Regions from separate parts of the Homo sapiens genome. Here region 1 is linked to region 2. Evidence: promoter capture Hi-C in human tissues and cell types (Jung and others, 2019). All regions are on one chromosome and are shown on one strand. The core of a region is centred on a gene start or on the middle of the fragment in contact, and the rest is flanking DNA. Distances in the headings are between cores, read along the strand shown. Region 1 overlaps SPDYA (speedy/RINGO cell cycle regulator family member A). Region 2 holds the start of WDR43 (WD repeat domain 43).

The links. The method cuts DNA at HindIII sites, captures the fragments that hold promoters and counts their contacts. A contact is called where the count stands out against the background at its distance.
Region 1: a fragment that was not itself captured here is called in contact with the fragment with the promoter of WDR43 in region 2 in 1 of the 25 tissues and cell types used here (adrenal gland).

The regions. Positions count from the first base shown.
Region 1 is chr2:28,843,075-28,846,342 of GRCh38, forward strand. All of the region lies in intron 7 of SPDYA (speedy/RINGO cell cycle regulator family member A), which reads left to right. Among named protein-coding and RNA genes, the nearest start is that of TRMT61B, 26 kb to the right of the region's middle. The HindIII fragment of the contact is 7,965 bases long and covers 1-3,268 here.
Region 2 is chr2:28,893,323-28,896,680 of GRCh38, forward strand. It overlaps WDR43 (WD repeat domain 43), which reads left to right and starts at 1,345. Exons shown (of 18, transcript NM_015131.3): 1 at 1,345-1,601. The coding sequence starts at 1,377. RefSeq lists silencers at 1,329-1,408, 1,549-1,608, 1,649-1,698, 1,719-1,838 and enhancers at 1,489-2,112, 1,939-2,038, 2,113-2,734. The HindIII fragment of the contact is 10,077 bases long and covers 1-3,358 here.

The DNA of each region.
Region 1 (3,268 bases), core at 704-3,203, 50 kb before region 2:
TTTCAAACACAAGCAAACAACTCCTCAATTTGCAGGTAAAGACATGTTTTCCTACCTTAAAATTTTTTTTGTTAAAAACAACACATTCAAATAAAAGTTTTAGATAAACATGTTTATGACATTTATTAAGAACAAAATATTTTTCAATTTGACAAGGTGGGGTAAAAATACTGTCAAAAATTTGACTTTTGGGGCCGGGCACGGTGGCTTGTGCCTGTAATCCCAGCACTTTGGGAGGCCAAGAGGGGGCGGATCACCTGAGGTCAGGAGTTCCAGACCAGCCTGGCCAACATGGTAAAACCCTGTCTCTATTAAAAATACAAAAATTAGCTGGGTGTGGTGGTACATGCCTGTAATCCCAGCTACTCAGGAGGCTGAGGCAGGAGAATCGCTTGAACCTGGGAGGTGGAGGTTGCAGTGAGCTGAGATGGTGCCACTGCACTCCAGCCTGTGCAAAAAGAGCAAAACTTCGTCTCAAAAAAAAAAAAAAAAATTGACTTTTGGGAAAGATAGATGAAGCATTCTTTTTTTTTTAGATGAAGCATTCTTTACATATTTATATACATCACAATCACCAATCACACGCTAGATACTTAATCTCATTTAACATCCAACCCCCTAAGAAATCTTGAAGTGGCATTATTATATTCATTTTACTGATGAAAAAACAAACTCAGAAAAGTCACACCATTACCAGGTAAAACAATAACAGAAACAAGATGGGAACCCAGTTCTATCTGAATATATAACATATTTTTATAATAACTAAACTACTATTGTTTCTCCTTACTGTATGCTGTTGTAAGCTTTATGACGCCTGGGCTGGTCCATGTGAAACATAGATATATATTATGTATTATCTGAGGACCCATGAGATTTTAGAGTGAAGCCAAGGGAAAAAAAAATATGCCAAGCTTTAGCCCTGGATCATATAGGGAGGCATGTAACATTACAACTGTTAAATAATCTAAAACCAAGTAATTTTTCCTCAGAAATAAATCCTTCTTTGAATTTTCTTACTTATTTTTGTCATTACCACTGTTCTAGTCACCCAGGTTTAAAATTCTTACACTTAATGAAGGTATAATTAGGGCATATAAGTTAATAATGTGATAAGGGCTGTGCTAAGTATATGATCAACATTGAGGAGCACAAAAGATTTCAGAATTAATTCTGTGGGGTGAGAGGTTTGGTGAAGGTTTTTCAAAGTAAGATATTAGCTGGGCATTGACTGAGTCCTGTTTTGCCCAGAGAATTAAGGGAAGGGCCTTCTGAATAGCAGACAGAAGTTTGAAAATACAGCTGGTCCTTGACTTACCTATGGTTGCTATACACATTCAGTGGAAAGCTGTATCATGGTCTCTCTTGATGCTGGGCAGAGGCAGTGAGCTGCAGCTTCCAGGCAGCCATGAAATCATGAGAGTAAACAACTGATTTTCGACAGTGTACCGCATTGCCAGATGATGTTGCCCACCTGTAGCCTAATGTAAGCGTTCTGAGCACACTAAGGTAGGCTAGGCTAAGCTGTGATGTTCGGTGGTTAGCTGTATTAAACGCATCTTTTTAAAAATATTTTTTGCTGGGCGCGGTGGCTCACATCTGTAATCCCAACACTTTGGGAGGCCGAGGCGGGTGGATCACCTGAGGTCAGGAGTTCGAGATCAGCCTGACCAATATGGTGAAACCCCATCTCTACTGAAAATACAAAATTTAGCTGGGCATGGTGCGGGTGCCTGTAGTCCCAGCTACTCGGGAGGCTGAGACAGGAGAATTGCTTGAACCCGGGAGGCGGAGGTTGCAGTGAGCCAAAATCATGCCCCTGTACTCCAGCCTGGGCAACAGAGTGAGACTCCATCTCAAAAAAGAAAAAAATAAAATAAAAACATTTTTTAAAAATAGAGATGGGGTCTCACATTGCCCAGGCTGGTCATGAACTCCTGGCCTTAAGCAATCCTCCACCTCTGTCTGCCAAAGTGCTGGGATTACAAGAGTGAGCTACTGTGCCCAGCCAAATGCTTTTTTCCCCCACCAGCCAGGATCTTGCTCTGTCACCTGGGCTGGAGTGTAGTGATGTGATCACAGCTCACTGTAGCCTCAACCTCCTCTGTTCAAGTGATCCTCCCACCTCAGCCTCCTGAGTAGCTGGCACTACAGGCACGTGCCACCATGCCCAGCTTTTTTTTTTTTTTTCTTTTTTTTTTTGTAGAGACTTCCTATGTTGCCCAGACTGGTGCTGGTCTCGGACTCCTGACCTCAAGCAATCCTCCCACCTTGGCCTCCCAAAGTGGTGGGGTTACAGATGTAAATCACTGCACCTGGCCCAAATGCATTTTGACTTAATGATATCTTCAAGTTACAAGAGTTTATTGGGACATAACTCCATTGTAAGTCAAAAAGTCTCGATATATAAATTTTCTCTCTGCATCCAATGAATTACCAGCTTATCTGGTTGTTCTTTCATAATATTTTGTTTCTTTCTTTGTTTGTTTGAGATGGAGTTTTGCTTGTTGCCCAGGCTGGAGTGCAATGGTGCGATCTCAGCTCACTGCAACCTCCATCTCCTGGGTTCAGGCAATTCTTGTGCCTCAGCCTTCCCAGTAGCTGGGATTACAGGCATGCTCCACCATGCCCAGCTAGTTTTTGTATTTTTAGTAGAGACAGGGTTTCACCATGTTGGTCAGGCTGGTCTCGAACTCCTGACCTCAGGTGATCCACCTGTCTCAGCCTCCCAAAGTGCTGGGATTACAGGCGTGAGCCACCGCGCCCGACCTGTCTGCTCATTTTCTACGATTAATCACCTTATATATGTATTACTATGAAAGCTCTGATTTAACAGTTTTTTCCTCCAGTTAAATTCTCATAGACACCACTAACAGATTAACTTAAAATACCTTTTACATGACCATAGAAACTTCAGAAGTTCCCACTGCCTCTGAAAATATGAAGTTCAAAATGAAAGCCTCCCACAATCGCAGAACTATATACTATGTATACCTAAATTTCCCTCTAGAACAACCAAGTCAACAGATAAAACAATACATGACCCTTGGCTGGGCATGGTGGCTCACGCCTGTAATCCCAGCACTTTGGGAGGCTGAAGCGGGCAGATCACTTGAGGTCAGGAGCTCGAGACCAGCCTGGCCAACATGGTGAAACCCCATCTCTACTAAAAATAGAAAAATTAGCCAGGCGTGGTGGTGGTGCATGCCTGTAATTCCAGCTACTCCAGAGACTGAGGCAGGAGAATTGCTTGAACCTGGGAGGTGGA
Region 2 (3,358 bases), core at 95-2,594:
ACATTATTATAACTGAATACATTGTTATTTTGTAAATGATTACAGCCTGGAATTGAATAGGGGGAAACGGAAGCAGTTGTTACAATCATTATCAATTTGAAAGTGAAGACTTCTTTTCTCTCTCTTTTTTTTTGAGACAGTCTCGCTCTGTCACCTAGACTGGAGTGCAGTGGCGTGGCGATTTCGGCTCACTGCAACCTCCACCTCCCGGGTTCAAGGAGTCTCCTGCCTCAGTCTCCCGAGTAGCTGGGACTACAGGCACACACCACCACACCCGGCTAATTTTAGTATTTTTAGTAGAGACAAGGTTTCGCCATTTTGCCTAGCTTGGTCTCGAACTCTGACCTCGGGCGATCTGCCCGCCTCGGCCTCCCAAAGTGGGATTATAGGTGTAAGCCACCGCGCTCGGCTGAAGATTTCCTTCAAACCTTTCGTTCTACCTTATCATTTTCTTTAAAGTTTTAAAAAATTGTTATTTATTTATTATTTATTTTTTTAAGACGGAGTTTCACTCTTGTTGCCCGGAGTATAATGGCGCGATCTCGGCTCACAGCAACCTCCATCTCCCGAGTTCAAGCGATTCTCCTGCCTCAGCCTCTCGAGTAGCTGGGATTACAGGCGTGCGCCACACGCCTGGCTATTTTTTTTTTTTTTTTTTTTTTTTTTTTTTTTTTGAGACGAGTCTCGCTCTGTCGCCCAGGCTGGAGTGCAGGGGCGCGATCTCGGCTCACTGCAATCTCCGCCTCCCGGGTTCAACCAATTCTCTGCCTCAGCCTCCCGAGTGGCTGGGATTACATACAGGTGCCAACCACCAAGCCCGGCTAATTTTTTTGTATTTTTAGTAGAGACGAGGTTTCATCATCTTGGCCAGGCTGGTCTTGAACTCCTGACCTTATGATCCACCCGCCTCGGCCTCCCAAAGTGCTAGGATTACAGGCGTGAGCCACCGCGCCCAGCCCACGGCTAATTTTTTTATTTTTAGTAGAGACGGGGGTTTCTACATGTTGGTCAGGCTGGTCTCGAACTCCGACCTCAGGGGATCCGCCCACTTCGGCCTCCCAAAGTGCTGTGATTACAGGCGTGAGCCACCGCGCCCGGCCCCCCCCCTTTTTTTTTTTTTTTAAAGGAACAGGACTTGATCTTAATTCTACAATTACTTTCTCCCATACTCCCACTCCCGCCCAGAACAAGATAGCGACAGGCCCTAGCGGGCCACCGTCCACAGGGCGGATCCGCCAGAAGCTCTCCTGCGACGCGAAGATCCACTCCCTGAGCCCCCGGCGCTCCCTCCGCCTCACTTCCTCCTCCAGGCTCCGCCCCGCGCCGGTGCGCCTGCGCACGGACGAACACGTGGCTGCAGCGGGGCCAGAGCAGCAATGGCGGCGGGCGGCGGCGGTAGCTGCGACCCCCTGGCCCCTGCTGGGGTCCCTTGCGCCTTCTCCCCGCACAGCCAGGCCTACTTCGCTTTGGCCTCTACCGACGGTCACTTACGAGTATGGGAGACGGCCAACAACCGGCTGCACCAGGAGTACGTGCCTTCCGCGCACCTCAGTGGTACCTGCACCTGTCTGGCCTGGGCGCCAGCGCGGCTGCAGGCCAAGGTAAAGCGAGCGGGACTGCGCGGGGCGGGCGCCTTCCCGGGCTCGGCTTCGGGCCTCCGGGCCGGGTGGCGCGTGGTCCGGCATCGCGCGTGGCTCTCAGCGGCCCGGGCCAGAAGGCTTGGAGGCGGCGTCGGCGCGTTCAGGGCCCAAGCCGCCAGCCCCGCGTGCGGCCTGCCGCGAGGGCAGTGAGGGAGGGCGCAGCTCGACCCGGCCGGCCTCGTATCCGAGCCCTGCCGGCTGGCCCAATGAGGCCTGGGCCCCACTGTTGACGGGCAGCCATGTTCGCCAAGTCCCCTGGTCCCCCTGGGGCGGCTTCCTTCTGCCGGGCCTTGGCTCATCAGAGTTCTGGTTTTTGACAGAGCCCCATCTTGGGACTATCTAACTTTCCTCTGTCTGTGATCCGGCTCATCAGTTTTGCACTGGGCAGTTGGTATGGACTAGTCTGTACTTGCTTCCGGACCTTCCCCCTCCTGCCCCCCCTTTGGGTGCCGGCTCACCACGTGTTCTCGTCCCCGTCCAGGTTGTGGGACTCTCAACTCTTAACTTTTGCCTTTCCCAGGCACCTCTACATTCTCAGCTTTTTGAACTCACTGCTTTTTGATTTTAACATCTGCTCGCCCCTCCCGCCCCGCTTTCAAGCCGATCACACTGCTCCCCACCCACCCCAATCTGAAGTCTGTATTAGGATGTGGAGGTTAAGTGAAGTAGTAGCTTGATTTAGTGAATGTTTTATGAGTGCAGATGAAATTACCCTTAGATGGAAAACTGCCGAGTTAGGCAGAGCTTTTCATTGTTAGGGACCCGTGTCAGGTAAATGCCTTTCACTGTTGAGTCACTCAGCTACATCTCTCTAACTCAGCATGCACGTGGTTATTGCGTTTACAGAGTAGCCAAACCGAATCACTGCAAAGTGATTTGGAAACATCAGGTATCCTGAGGTGTGTGATGTGAGCTGTTTCAATGTGGAGAACTGTAAAAGCTATTTAGGATCTTACTCTCTCTGACGACCTGGGAAGCCTGCTAAATTTTTGGGTTGGGAAAAGGGATACATATAAGTTGCTATACTTTGGGCATGTTTAGATATTTTTCAAATTTTAAGCTACATTTTCATAGTTTATCCTGTTGATTCATAAAATAAACCTATCAGGGCTTATAAGTCAAACATAAAACTAAAAAAAAAATCAGTTTTTATTGTTAAAATTACAGCGCTCTGCTTATCTTTTATTTTCAAAGTTTTCTGTGGTTGTATTTTAACAGTCCTGTAAAGTGATAGTAATACTAATGCTGAGAGAAATACGGAGCAGTGGTTAGGTAGGTGCGTGGACCCAAGCTGGCTATATTGTCTATATTTGATTCTAGCCTCTGCTTCATAGTGGTAATTGCCCCTCTGGTTCCTCATTTATGAAATGAGGATAATAATATCTTCTTCATAGAGTGGTTGTGAAGGTTAATATATTTAATAATGCAGAGAACACTTAGAATAGTTCTTGACAGGTAAGTGCTTTAAGTGTTAAGTATTATTAATATCTGATATTTGTGTGGTTAGTCCTGAAGTGTTGATAAGGAACTTTCTGCCTTGTTTCGGGGAAAGAAACAGAAACTCTGGGAAACTAAGCAACTTGAATAAAGTAAAAAATGGAACCAGGATTAGAACTCAGGTCCTTAAGAGCTCGGTTCTTGGTTATCTGCAACAGATAGTTAATATTAGGTTGGAAAAAATGTCACCCACTTTGCTTTTCTGTTGAGTTTCAGTTGCA